Linked DNA regions of Homo sapiens: regions 1 and 3 are each linked to region 2. Evidence: promoter capture Hi-C in 16 types of primary human blood cells and fetal thymus (Javierre and others, 2016). All regions are on one chromosome and are shown on one strand. Each heading gives the region's core, a stretch centred on a gene start or on the middle of the fragment in contact. The rest is flanking DNA. Distances are from core to core; before and after follow the strand shown. Region 1 overlaps STIL (STIL centriolar assembly protein). Region 2 holds the start of TAL1 (TAL bHLH transcription factor 1, erythroid differentiation factor). Region 3 holds the start of LINC00853 (long intergenic non-protein coding RNA 853).

Region 1 (4,636 bases), core at 1,542-4,041, 63 kb before region 2:
AAAAAATTTGACATTTGCCCTTTATATACCCTAATATTTACTAGGGCCCATTATGGCATAGGCATTATGTTAGACATTGGAAATAAATAGATTAAAAACTATACTTACTATCTATTGAATATGTTGACATGTAAACATGATGTGTTATAATGGAGGTTTATATACAGTGCTGGGAAAGTAGGGGGAGGGATGTCCAAAATGCCTGGGGAAATCATGGAAAGCCTGAACTAATTCTTTTTTTTTTTTTGAGATGGAGTCTTGCTCTGTTGCCAGGCTGGAGTGCAGTGGCACGATCTCAGCTCACTGCAGCAACCTCCACCTCCTGGGTTCAAGTGATTCTCCTGCCTCAGCCTCCCAAGTAGCTGGGATTACAGGCGCCCGTCACCATGCCTGGCTAATTTTTGTATTTTTAGTAGAGATGGGGTTTCACCATCTTGGCCAGGCTTGTCTTGAACTCCTGACCTCATGATGCACCCATCTCAGCCTTCCAAAGTGTTGGAATTACAGGCATGAGCCACTGGGCCCAGCCAGCCTGAACTAATTCTTTTAAGGAGTAGAAATTTATCAGATGGGCAAGACATGAGGGAGAACTTTTAAAGCAGCTGTGTCATTGTTGATTTGTAAATCTTACGCCAACTCAGGCTTAATATTCTTGTCACAAGACCTGACAAATGTATTGTCTTTGTGTTTTAGTGTTATTAGAGCAATAAAATATATCATCAGTGGTACTGCCAAGGCTTTATATCACTAATGGCATTGTTTTTGTTTTCTGTTTTTGAGACGGAGTCTCACTCTGTTGCCCAGGCTGAAGTGCAGTGGTGCAATCTCGGCTCACTGCAACCTCTGCTTCCTGGGTTCAAGTGATTCATTCTCCTGCCTCAGCCTCCCGAGTAGCTGGGATTACAGGCGTGTGCCACAATGCCTGGCTAATTTTTTTTTTTGTATATTCAGTAGAGATGGGGTTTTGCCATGTTGGCCATGCTGGTCTCGAACTCCTCACCTCAAGTGATTTGCCCACCTCGGCCTCCCAAAGTGCTGGGATTACAGTAAGCGTGAGCCACCATGCCTGACCCACTAATGGCATTGTTTTTGAAGAAAGACATAACAATAAAATTAACAATTCTACTTTGGTTTTTTGTATTCTTATAACTTGCTGTCAATAATAAATATAATAAAATATAAATATAGTATAATGTCCTTTTAGGAAAGAGTGAGCTTTTGTGTTTTATGATGGTTCCAAAGTCCTTTGACAGTGGTTGGAGGAATATGGCACATGGAAGGTTGATCATACTTCTCCTAATTCAGTCTCCTTCACTTAGAAGTCACATCTGTTGCAGTCTTGTCAAATCACTTGGATGCATGAACATTTTCTAGTGATAGGGAATTCAGTTCTTCCAAGGAAACCTATTTGGTTCTGAAACTGCCTACCTTAATGTTAACACTCTTGATTAAAGTAAATTGTAAGTAAAGTTATAGAGCAAAACTTTTAAAAAAGGTGTATAATCTTCAATGTCTTTTAATTGATAGATGGAAGTTTTAAGGTATTAAATCTCTTTAATCTCTTCCTCTTACCAGAGTCTTTTTACTGAGTCAGTAAAAAGTTTCTGTTTCTTTTGTGTGTGCAAGACAACGTTCATTTGAATTATCTCCCCTTTCTAAAGTATGCTTCAGCATTTAGATTATGTCTTTTAGGTAAAAAGTACATAATTTCAGTTATTTTCACATGAATGTCTTCTGTTTAGATATCTTACCATGGATGAAACACGCAAATTGTTACTTTTGTTGGAATCTGATCCCAAGGTTTATTCTCTACCATTGGTGGGAATGTAAGTATTACATTATTTATGAAAACCTTATCAGCCAAATGTTCAAATGTATATGATAAGCATGTGACTCAGTTGTACTATAAATATTTAGATCATTTTATAAAGCCACAAAGATAAGTGGTTGTCAGGTTTTCTTATTTTACTAGTAGAATCAGCTAAAATAAGATTTTACCCAATCTTTTTTTTGAGATGGAGTCTTGCTCTGTGCCCAGACTGGAGTGCAGTGGAGAGATCTCGGCTCACTGCAATCTCCATCCCCCAGGTTCAAGTGATTCTCGTGCTTCAGCCTCCTAAGTAGCTGGGATTACAGGCGTGCATCACCATGCCTGGCTAATTTTTGCTTTTTTAGTAGAGACGGGGTTTTACCATGTTGGCCAGGCTCGTCTCGAACCCGTGGCCTCAAGTGATTTACCCGCCTCAGCCTCCCAAAGTGCTTGGATTACAGGTGTGAACCATCATGCTCAGCCAGATTTTGTCCAATATTAGGAAGAACTCTAACATATAAAACAGATAAAAGCTTAATTCTATGGCCAGGCGCAGTGGCTCACGCCTGTAATCCCAGCACTTTTGGAGGCTGAGGTGGGCGGATCACCTGAGGTCAGGAGTTCGAGGTCAGGAGTTCAAGGCCAGCCTGGATAACATGGTGAAACCCCATTTCTACTAAAAATACAAAAAATTAGCCAGGCATGGTGGTGCGTGCCTGTAATCCCAGCTACTTGGCAGGCTGAGGCAGGAGAATCACTTGAGCCCAGGAGGTGGAGGTTGCAGTGAGCTGAGATTGCGCCATTGCACTCCAGCTTGGGCAACAAGAGTGAAACTCCTTCTCAAAAAAAAATAAAAAATATAAGTTGAATTCTCCTGGTTGAAGGTGAAGGCTTAGAGCCCTGTTTCTTCAGTATTCTCTCACTACCACTCATCCTTAAGTCACCCTAAAGAACTCAGGGCTCATAATAATACCATTTAAAATCCACTGTCAGTCAATCTTGCAGAAATCTCCTTTAGTGTTAATGGCCTTCTCTTTAGAGTAGTAATTAATGATATTTATGTGTTTACTTTTTTTTATATATGTATACATGTTTTGAGACAGGGTCTCACTTTGTCACACAGGCTGGAGTGCAGTGGCACAATCATGGCTCACTGCAGCCTCAATCTCTGGGGTTCAGGTGATCCTCCCACCTCAGCCTCCTGAATAGCTAGGACTACAGGCACCGGCCATCACGCCTGGCTAGGTTTTGTATATTTTGTAGAGGCGGGCTTTCGCCATGTTGCCCAGGCTGGTCTGGAACTCCTGGGCTCAAGCCATCTGAGTTAATGATATTTAGACAGAATATTTAGAAATTTATATTCATTCAGTATTGAGTACTTATTATATACAGTGTTATGCTTGATAATGTGTTGAGGTTTAAAGCTTCTTAAAGAATTTAAAATCAAAGTGAGGTGATAAAACATTCAAATATTCATACACAGAAAAATAAAGTATATGATTTACTATAAAGTGACCAGTATGGAAAGTGAACACTTAGTATTTGTAAGAAAGATATGATAGGGAGCATTTTCCTAGAGAAGACAAACTTGAGCTAGACTTTCAATTGTTTAGATAGTAGAAGGGAAGATTGTTGGGGAAGGGAACCCATGTAAGGGAATGGCACATGCAAAGTGAATGAGAATGCATGAATGTTCTCTGGACCATGAAATCTACTTATAGTTTGCTACAGTCCTAATATAGGCAATGGATTGTTGATGCTTAAGTAAATATTAAGAGCCTTCTCTCTTTCTGACTACCTGTATATATTACAGCATTTAATCCTCAGCAACTCTGTGAAGTAGTTTTAGGCTGCAAATTAGTCTGTACTACCTTAGCCCATTCTTTCCAGTCCAAGCTAATTCATTCTAGTATACTGCTTTCATCTCTGTTAACCATTTTCTTTCCCACATCTCAGGTAAAAGAGGACAGAGATACGCGTGCTTGCTCTCTTTCTCTCTCTCTCTCTCGATATATATCTATATGTCTGTCTATATATATCAATATAGTTATATATATACAAATGTCTATATATTCTTCCTTTTAATTATCAGCACGTTTTTAGATTTCTTATTACTAAGGCTTTTTAATGTATGGCTGATAAAAGCCATACGTCTACTTTGTTATCTTAGGAAGAATGTAAATTATGCTATATATGTAAGTGACTATGGTTTTTAATTTCTATCTTTTTCTTTTAGTTGGCTGTCTGGAATTACACATATCTATAGTCCTCAGGTATGGGCTTGCTGTTTGCGATACATATTCAATTCTTCTGTTCAAGAAAGGCAAGTGATATTTTATTCTGTAGTACTTTATTTCGATCCTTTCCCCCATTCATAGTTTATGGTCCCATTTAAAATTCATGTAATGCCGTAACCTTTTACAATACTTATAAATAAACACGTACATTAAGAAAAAACAAACCTTATATTAAATGAGAATAAAACCAGATTAAAAAAAGATGAGGTTGCAGTATACCTGGAAATACCAAGGAATTCACTTGCCTAACCACAGAACACAAACCTTTTGGGGGTGGAAAAAAACTGTGGAGATTGTCTACTGTAGCATCCTATTTAATAATTAAGGAGGTTAACTTTCAGTGAAATGACTGCAAATGAGTTTGGATTTGTTACCTTACAGATGTTTTATTAAGTTACACAGTGTTACTACTAATACACAAAGAAATACTTGAGACAAGATTTTTAATTTCTTCCTGAAACTGAAGCCTAAACATTGGAATTAATAGTTAGGGAAACTTTACTTTTAACCTCAACTCATTTAATAGATA
Region 2 (4,340 bases), core at 1,102-3,601:
CCTCTTGTCATCTCTTCTGCCAGCACAGTGGTCCAAGCTCTAATCCGCTTCCCCTAACCACTGCATTGGCTCCACAACTGGCCTCCCAGAGTCCTTCCCCCTCCACACTTCATCCAAAGAACTTTCTAGAAATGCAAATCTTATTCTATACAAGGTACCACCCCCACCTTCAAACCAAACAAACAAAAAAATGTCAAAAAATCTTTTAACTTGTCCACAAGCATGCTCCAGCCATACTGGACACTTTTCTATTCTTTTCACGAACCTACCACCCTTCTGTTCTAGCCCTTGGTCCAGCTGTTTCCTCAGCCCACCTGGAAGGTTCTGGATACTGATGCTTCTCCCCACCCCCCTTCTTCGCACCCCCAAATTTCACTCTTAGATCTCAGTCCAGGCCTCATTTTCTCAGAGAAGCAGTCCCCACCTGGGCTCTCCCATATGGGAATGGCTAGCCTGTTTTTACAGTGGCTCAGAGACATGAAATCACTTCTCTAAGGGTCCCACAGCCCAGGAATGGCAGAGTTGTGTTTCAGACTCAGAATTATATGACTCTCATTTTCTAATAAGTGATGGAGCCAAGCAAAGGCCTTATGGTAGGGGGGAACTAGACTTTTTCTTAGGATGTGGGATTCTGTGAGAGTTATCTGTATCCCCATGACAGCCTGACTTCCTTCAGAGAGCACAGGAGGAACAGAGGGGACAGGCGGCACTGAATTAACTGTATCTTCTCAGAGGGTCAACCTGATGACCAAGGAGAAGCCAGATCCCAGACTGGGGCCATGCTCTCTGCTCAGTCTTTGACTGGGACTCAGTTTGTTACCAGAGTAGGGGTTTTCCCCCAGTTCTCAGGCTCCAAAAAAAGCTCAAAAGCAGAGACACTAGAAGGACAAATCAGCCTGGCATGGAAAGTAGAGTTGTGGACTGGGAATTGGACACCAAAGTTTGGGTCCTGGCTTTTCCTTTGGGTTACTGTAAGTTTTGGCTAAGTCACATCTCTCTGTGTCTTAATTTCTTTCTCTATGATGATAACCAGAACTCCCATGCAAGTGCATATGATGTTTTCCTGGGCTGTGGACTGAGTGACGTTCCATACATTATTATCCTCACCACCACCTTTTAAAGGTCATATAAGTTAGTTCTCATAACTTTGTGACGTCGACATTATCTCCCCATTTTACAAATGAGAAAACTGAGGTTCAGAGATCAGTGACTAAAATTCGAACATGTGTTCTTTCCACTCCACCATGAAAGAATGAACCCAGAGACCCTCCGTGGGCTGAGCGCATCATCCAGCTGGCACTGAACTCAGATTTCTACCCCACAGTAAAGACCCTGGTCTCTGCAATGAGTTGAGCCCAGGTCCCTTTCCCTGGCTAGGTTTTGGCTGCCCCTCTTCATCAGCTGAGCCGCAGAGAAGACTCCGTGTCAAATTTCCTTCCAAGGCAGACTCCACCAAGCACTAGCTATGTATCATTCGAAAAGTTACTTTGACTTTCTGTGCCTCAGTTTTCTCTTCTGTAAATTAAGGATCCAGCTTCTCAGGACTGTTTGTGAAGAGTAGATTAGTATTTGCAGAATGCCTAGAATAGTGTTACAGTCGCTAGATTAAACTTTTTTTTTTTTTTTAAATACCATGTGGGGAGCAGTGTTCCTGGGCTCTGGGCTCAGCCTGAAACCTAGCAGAATAGGCATTTTATGTCCCTATTGACAGGGGTTCTGCCAGGCCGCCGTAGAGCCCATGGATTTGAGTTACCGGCTCTATTTTAGAAGGGGGTGAAGAGGTAGGGAAGGGCTGGGGAGCTTTCTGGGATAGGGAGACTGCCCATTGAAATCTGGGTGTCTGGGACACTGGAGGAAGAATAAGAAAGAAGCCCTGGGAGGTGACGATTTTGGTATCATGGTGGTCTTCAGAGGTAGGGACAGAGTGCTGGGGTGAGAGTCGCTGAAGAAAGGTGTCTGAAAGGTTAAGGGACTGAGGTTGTGGGAAGCTGGGGTTCCTGAGAGGCCTTGGGATTAGAGATGGGGGCTGGATCTGCTGGGTCCTAGACAGCGCGTCCAACGCTCCCCGCAGCGCGTTCCGGAGCCGGTCCTAGCGCCGCTCAACCAGTCCCCACTCCCTCCGGTGAAATTGCCAAATTAAAATGAATCATTTGGCCCATAATGGCCGAGGCGCTTATCGGGGGCGGGCGGACCCGCGGCAGTGCCTTATCTCTGCGGCGCACACGGCCCCGGCGCGCCTCGGCCCATGCTAACGAGGCCTGGAACGTGAGTGGGATTACAGCGCGTCGGTGGAGGGGCCGGGCGGGCGCGGGGCGGGCGGGGGAGCGGGGGCCGCGGGAGGGGCCGGGCCGCCGCCGCTCAGGACCGGGCCTCAAAATGGCCACACGCGTACCCCCGTAGCGGAAAAACGTGAGCATTCTGGCCTTTTTCTAGGGGAAAAGCAACCCGCGGCCTCCCACCGAATTCTTCATCAATTTCCTCCTCTTTTTCCCCACGTCCGCAAAAGAGGTCTTCGCTCCCTTTCCCTCGGTTCCTTTCGATGGCCGGGGGGGGCGGTGGGGGGGCATTTTCCACGGACGCCCCCGCCCCGGCTGCCGCCGCCCCTCCCGCCTCGGAGACTCTCTTCCTTCCTTCCCCCTTTTCCTTACGCAATATACAGAAATGCGCGAGGCTGTGGTTGGTTTTCATTTCTTCTTCGTGGTTGTGTGCATGCGGTGGGATTGTGAGAGTGCGTTCATGAGAACTGTGGGCGGCGTTGGCTGCTTCTAAGTGTGGTCTTCTTGGCGACAGGCTCTGTGTCCGAGTGTGGTGTGCCTGCGCGGTTGGGGTGTGTAGATGTGGACCCTTCGAGGCCCTTCTGCGTTTTCTTCGTTGCGTACGATTGTGCTCCGTTGGTGTTCTCAGCAGGGATCTGATTCTGTGTGTGGGGGTGTGTGGCCCCTGCGACTGTGTTTGGGTGGTGTCGTCGTTATGTCGGGCGTGTGTGATCCCGACTGTGCTGGATTGTGTGTCCGTGAGCCGCTGCGTTTGACTGATTTCGTTGTGTCCTGTTGGGCAGTGTGCGGGGCTGACCAAGTCGGCTTCTGGGGCAGTGCTAGGTGGTGTTTGTTTGCTGCCCTTCTGTGGGGCTGGACCCTGTGTGGTCCTGTCCGCACTGAGTTGTATGCCTGTGTGCCTGTGTCCTTTAGAGGTGCGTTTGCAAATCGCTGGGGGCGGGAGTGGGGGGAGGGCGAGCGAGAGATCGAGGCGCTGGTGGGGGCGGCGGCATGGGGGCGGGGAGCGGGATTTCACATTTTATTCCAAATTATGATGTATTCGGGAGCCAGTTGTTGGCTTGGGTGGGCGGACAGCGCCCGGTCGGCGGCTGCTCTGCCCGGAGGCCCGCCTGTGCCTAGGTGTTTGAGGGGTTCGTTGGTGAGTGGGAGGCTCCTCCAGGCTTGAAGCTGAGCAGCGCTCGCCGAGGCCGGCGCCTTCGAGCCGGTAGCTGCGGGCTTCGGTTCCCGCTGCACTCCGGCTTCATCCATTTCTGGTCAGTTTCGTGGGTGCGGCCGCCGGGCTCCAAGGGAGAGGCCCCGAAAGGACAATGGGCACATTCACCAGGCCTCGAGCCTCGGGTGGGGACATTCGGGATCACCTCCTGGGAAGATTTTCCCGCCCCCTCTTCGGGTGAGCGACGTTGCCGCTTGGGTCTGATACCCGTCGCATCCGAGACCGAGGCCGAATCCGGGCTCTGGGAGGGACCGGGTTAGTGGGGCCCTAGCTCGGGTTGAAAGAATTTTGTTTTGTCAATTATTGTAATTGCTAATGCCATCACCATCACAATCGTCATCATTAACATCTATTTTAATTAAAATAATCATCCCAGAGCGCAGCAGTTTGTCCCTTTTGGCTCCTTTGGCGGGAGAACAAAGCAGCGGGTTTTTTTCCGCTACAGCCGTTTTCTAAGTTGCTGGGTTTGAGGTAGGAAGAGAAAATGGAGAGAGGCACGGACACAGAGACTTGGTCATAAGGCAAACATTAACCCCCAGCGAACACGCAACATTAACCCCCCGCGAACACGCCGGGAATGGATGGATTCCCCTCTTCTTTCCTCCCCTCCCCTCTTTTGGATTAGAAGAGGAGAAAGAAAATCTTCCGCATTGTATTGCAATCCAGGGAAGAATTATTCCTATATGTCCACCAAAGCCGCGGCAAATAGAAGGAGGCCTTCGCAGTTAATCCAAGACTTCGATGTGTGATCATAAGCCTGACGATTTAGGCAAAACAAATTAAACAAAATCCACTAGGAAAAAATAAAAGCAAGCTCAATCCTGCTACATCCTTGAAAGTAGTGTCGGGTT
Region 3 (4,672 bases), core at 504-3,003, 51 kb after region 2:
GCGCCCCTCTTGGAAATCCCCGCCCCCAAACATCCTTCATCCCTGAGACTCTGGGCTTTTCCTTGCTCAGCGCCGCTCACCCTCTGCCTCTGTGCTGGAGGTGTCACAGTGGGTTCACACAGATCTAGCTCTGTCTCCCTCCAGTAGCCCCTCCGTGCTGGGCTTTGGCATAGGAAGTGTCAGGAAGCAGTCTTGGGTTGAGACTCAGGAAGCCCAGATCTGAGTCCTGGGTCCTCTGGCAACTTGTGTGTGAACTTGGGAAAGCTGTTGTCCTCTCTGAGCTGAGCTTTCTCTCCGTGGAAGATTTGGCCAGTCTCACGGCAGAGCTGGAGGAGAGCCCAGTCCTTGCCTATGCCTGCCCTCCCAATGCCCAGTCCTGGGGTGGGAGTCAGGGTTGGGAAGGGAGGATCAGGAAACTGGGTCCTAGTAGGAGCAGGGGAGAGGGGAGGCATGCCTTGCCTGGCTGGCTGAACCTGGAGGCCCCTCACCTCTGTGACTGTTGGCCTTATGCGAACAGCTTCTGTCTCTGTCCAGGGTGATAACCTGAGAGACTCATCCAGGATAATTCCCAGATCCAGAGAAGTGGGGCCAGAAGGTAGGAGGCCATCCACCTTGTCCCAAAGGTCTCCCTCTGCCACTTGTCTCAACCTGTCACAGCCCCCTTGCTTTATGTTATGGCCATTGTTTTGCTATTCCAAGGCTTCACCAAGTACCACTGGGGAAGACTCATCTTAAATGGGAATCATCTCTTCTCACCTCATTGGGTTTAGGATGCAGCCTGCAGCAGAGGGAAGAGGCCTGTGGGTCGGGGAGCAGCGGCTTTGCTCCAGGCCTATCCTTGCTTTTCTGCGTGTCTTGAGACAAGTCACCTCCCCTCTCTGGGCTTCGGCTTAATGAACTGTGGCTTGTGATTTCTACTCTAGGCTTTTGCTTACGTGGCTGCCTGTGACTCATGCCTTTTCACCCCACCTCTGCCAGTTTAAACTCTGCGCATTGTTTTTTCTTGACCCAACCAAGGTTCCTCCTCTTCTGGGAAGTCTTCCTTGATTAGACCAGAGGGCAAAGCCAGGCCAGCAGCCAGCCCAGCTTCTCCACTCACTGAAGGAGAGACAGAGGTTCCTAGAGGGTCAGGCCTCTGCTAAGGCACAAACAGTCCCCTCTTCCTTTCCTGTCTCCTGGTGGGAAGCTTCTGACTGCCGGATCCGATTCTCCTTGCACGAGGCCACATTTCCTCCCAGCTCTGCCCTCAGTTGTCCCTGGGGGGTGGGAGTGGGTTCGAGTCAGGTCACTCCACCAGCCTGCCAGGGCCAGAAGGCAGAGCCACCATCCCTGTCTCCCTGCAGCAAGTGAATCCCAGCCCCTCACACCTGTGAGGTTTTGCCAGGAGAAGCCTGCTTCTGCCTGGGCTCACCTTGCTCCCCAGCAGCTGTCTGAGGCCTCTCCAAGAGCCTCCTTGGCCCCCTTCTCATTCTGTCTTGCTCAATATGGGCAGATCTAGGAGAGTGGGAACCCTAGGGGCTCCTGCAGGGGCTGGGCCGGCACTGACCTTACAGCCCTTCACCCTCACCCCATGTTCCTGCCCTGATCCAGAGGGGAGTGCTGGGAGCAGGGAGCTGCTGGCCCCAGAACTGCTGAGACCCCCAATCCTTATCGCTCATTCCCACCTGCCAGCCTGGCCAGATCGGGGAGGGAAAGGAGGCTGGGCCCGGGCCAGGGTGGCGCTTAATGACCCTCCGGGGGCCTAATCTCAGACTGGCAGCCACGGAGTGGCTCAGGCGCGCTCCTGGAGAAGGCTGATAACGCACCAGCTGGGCCCCCACCATCTATCGCTGCACAGCCAGTCCCAGGGGCAGCCTCCCAGGGCCTGGGGAGGGGGAGCCTCTGGACTAGGGCGGGGCTGGAGGCGAGCTCTCCACCCCCAGCCCTGAGGGAGGGGATCCTGAGCTTCGTGATTGGCAGACAAGGGAGAGACCCAGCCTGCAGGAGGGGTGGGCTGGGCCTGGTGGGAACCTCCAGACACCTGTGCTCCTTCTCTCTTTCCTGCTCTCTTCCCAACCTTTTCTCCCCACGTAGGACCTCTCCTGCCCAGGCCTGTCTCCTCTTTGTCTCTCCCAGCCTCCATCCATCTCTGTCTCCCTGTTTCTCAGTCTCTCCACCTCTGTTTTTGTCTCATCCTCTGCCTCTCTCTCTCCTGTTTGCCTTTCTCCTCCTCCACCTGAGCTCAGTGCCCACCTCCTCTTTCTCTCTTGCATCCCTTTTCAGTTTCCAGCTGGTTCTCTTGGTTGTCCCCTTCCCAGCTGTCCCCTGCCTCCTAAGCTTCCTTGATGTCAACCCTTGGCCGGGCAGTTCCCACGATCTCATTGGTCTCACTTCTGTGTGTGGTATCATCTCTCTGTGGTCCCTTCCACCAGCTATCTGCCAGGATTGCAGGCTGCCTCAAGCCCTGGCTCTCAGCCCAGAATGTCCTCTTACTGTTGAGGACATTTTTGCTCTTCCTGGAACAGGGCTTGCACCTTGTTTTCCCCTCTCCCACCTAAAACATGTAAGTTTCATAGGGTTACATTATAGGTTATACCCAAACTCAGGCAGAAAAGAAAAGCCTCCACCCAGCAACTGCACAGTTGAGGGAAGACTGCAGCACTGCTTACTTCATTTAGACTTGAAGAGGAACTTCCAGCCAGGAGTTGGCTTTGAAAACAGGCTGTGGAGTTCCGTCTCCAGAGTGCCAGGTGGTCAAGGGGAGTTTCAAGATTACTGCCGTCATACTCAGAGTGACACATGCAGAAATACTATCTGTTTATTGTGCTTCAAGGATCCATTAGATCAGGACTATTGCTGGGCAAAGCCTCTTCCCGCAGCCTAGGGGTAGTAAAGGTGGGGGTAGAGGTGCTGGGGCTGGGGCCAGAATCACACACAGTCTGCTCTGGCCTCTACCCACCTTCACAGGGAAGTCAGGTGGCTGAAGCCAGCAGAACTTGCTCTGGGACCAGGGTGGAGGCACCTGCCTCCCATCCAGACCTGGCTGGAGGGTCTTGACTCCCTAGCTTGGCTCTCCTCCCAGGGTTTTTTTTTTTTTTTTTTTTTGTCCCTGGCAGTGCAGGGGTGGCCAAAAGCTTGAGCTTGGGAATCATGCCGATTGGTTCAAATTCCAGCCTGCTCCTCGATGCTTGTGGGATCGCCTAGCCTTTCAGATCTTCCATTCCTTTGCCGGTAAAATTGGCTCTATAGTACATTCCTTGCAGGGCTGCTGGGAGGAAACAGAGATGACATCCGTGTTATTATTGCTCCTGAGACTTGCCAGAAAGCCCTCCATGATCAGCGTAGATGCCATTTCTTCCCAGATGCTCCTTTCCCCACTCCTGGGTTCAGCACTTCCTCCGGGCAACTTCAGCCCCTGCTCCTCCCTCTCTTTGCACCCGCCCCACCTGCCCCACTCACTCCACCCACCCCAGGGTGCTGTCTACTTGTCTGCATCCTGCTCCTGCCCTGGGTCTGGGAGCTCCTCAAGGGCAGGAATGGAGTGACTTCCCTCTCTGTGCACCCAGGACAGGGCTGGACAGGAGAAGGGAAGCCCAAGGAGTGGTGAAGAGCCCCGAAGGAAGGGACTAAACTCCAGCCATCTGTCCCGCGGTGTCTGTTCATACTCCTCCTCCGTGCACGGGCTCAGACATACATATGCGCATATGCTCTGTCTCTTTCTGGTTGAAGGTCCTGGGAGCCCTCCGGAACTCTGCTGCCTGGCAGTCCTTCAGTTTCGGGAGCTTTTCTGTCTGCCCGTGGCCTCGGCTGCCACCTGGTGGCTGCACGCTCCAAAGGAAGCGTAGATTGATGAGAGCCTCGGAAGTTGAGCTTCAGGCGCGGCTCTTCCCCGTCACACTGGGACCGGACGCATTTCCATGGCGTGGTCCCAGGAACCTCTCAGGTCATGCCAGCAACTGGGACTTCCTGTGGAATGCAAGGGCAGTGGGGCCTCCGCGAGAGAGAGAGAGAGAGAGAGAGAGAGAAGAGAGAGATATTAAGGATGAATCCCAGTGTCTGCTCTGAGCAAATTGGAAGACGATGGCATCAGGGGCACTGCTCTGGGCTATATAGACTGTGCCTCCACTAAAGGGTCCCTGAGACCAGGTGTGGGCCCGTATCCCTGGAGGGAGAGGTAACTTCCTCTGATTCGAAGGCATCATATAGGCTAGTGAATGGCACTGAGAATGGCAGATGCCAGGGACAAGCAGGAGCATGTGTGGGATGAGGATGCGGCGTGGATGTGTGACGTTTCAGAGCCTGCAACACATCCGTAGGGAAGTCCTGGAGGAGCAGTTGGGTGCATGGTGGAGTTCTGAAACAGCTGGGCAGTCGGCACTTGAGCCAGAGATTCTGCTTTCGACCTGGATGCCCATTGAGAGGTTAAGAGCTCAGGTCTGGGTCAGGCAGCTTGGAAGCAGCACAGCTTGGACACTTGGTAGCCTGGGACTGTGGTTAAATCAACGTGACTCTCGGAGCTCCAGTTCACTGTAAATTAGGGCAGTAAATGATGTCTACATGATAAGTGGTGTTATGAATGTTAAACATTCACATGAAATACATAGAATAGTGCTTAGCATACAGTACACAATAACTGTTAGCTATTTGGAAAATTACTATTGTTATTATGATTATTTATTACAGAGTGAACTGA

Evidence for each region. The method cuts DNA at HindIII sites, captures the fragments that hold promoters and counts their contacts. A CHiCAGO score of 5 or more calls a contact.
Region 1: a contact is called between a fragment that was not itself captured here and the fragment with the promoter of TAL1 in region 2, in 1 of 17 cell types (erythroblasts). The highest score is 5.8, in erythroblasts.
Region 3: a contact is called between a fragment that was not itself captured here and the fragment with the promoter of TAL1 in region 2, in 2 of 17 cell types (megakaryocytes and erythroblasts). The highest score is 15.3, in megakaryocytes.

The regions. Positions count from the first base shown.
Region 1 is chr1:47,292,955-47,297,590 of GRCh38, reverse strand. It overlaps STIL (STIL centriolar assembly protein), which reads left to right. Exons shown (of 17, transcript NM_001048166.1): 7 at 1,743-1,826; 8 at 4,047-4,133. Among named protein-coding and RNA genes, the nearest start is that of STIL, 19 kb to the left of the region's middle. The HindIII fragment of the contact is 891 bases long and covers 2,346-3,236 here.
Region 2 is chr1:47,230,236-47,234,575 of GRCh38, reverse strand. TAL1 (TAL bHLH transcription factor 1, erythroid differentiation factor) reads left to right here and starts at 2,351. Exons shown (of 5, transcript NM_001290403.2): 1 at 2,351-2,409. RefSeq lists enhancers at 2,182-3,155, 3,156-4,129, 4,322-4,340. The HindIII fragment of the contact is 19,807 bases long and covers 1-4,340 here.
Region 3 is chr1:47,178,440-47,183,111 of GRCh38, reverse strand. LINC00853 (long intergenic non-protein coding RNA 853) reads right to left here and starts at 3,862. Exons shown (of 2, transcript NR_047498.1): 1 at 3,674-3,862; 2 at 2,773-3,244. CYP4A22-AS1 (CYP4A22 antisense RNA 1) reads left to right here and starts at 3,489. Exons shown (of 6, transcript NR_199717.1): 1 at 3,489-3,922; 2 at 4,663-4,672. RefSeq lists a cis regulatory region at 1,784-1,801 and enhancers at 1,720-1,864, 3,490-3,991. The HindIII fragment of the contact is 1,130 bases long and covers 1,189-2,318 here.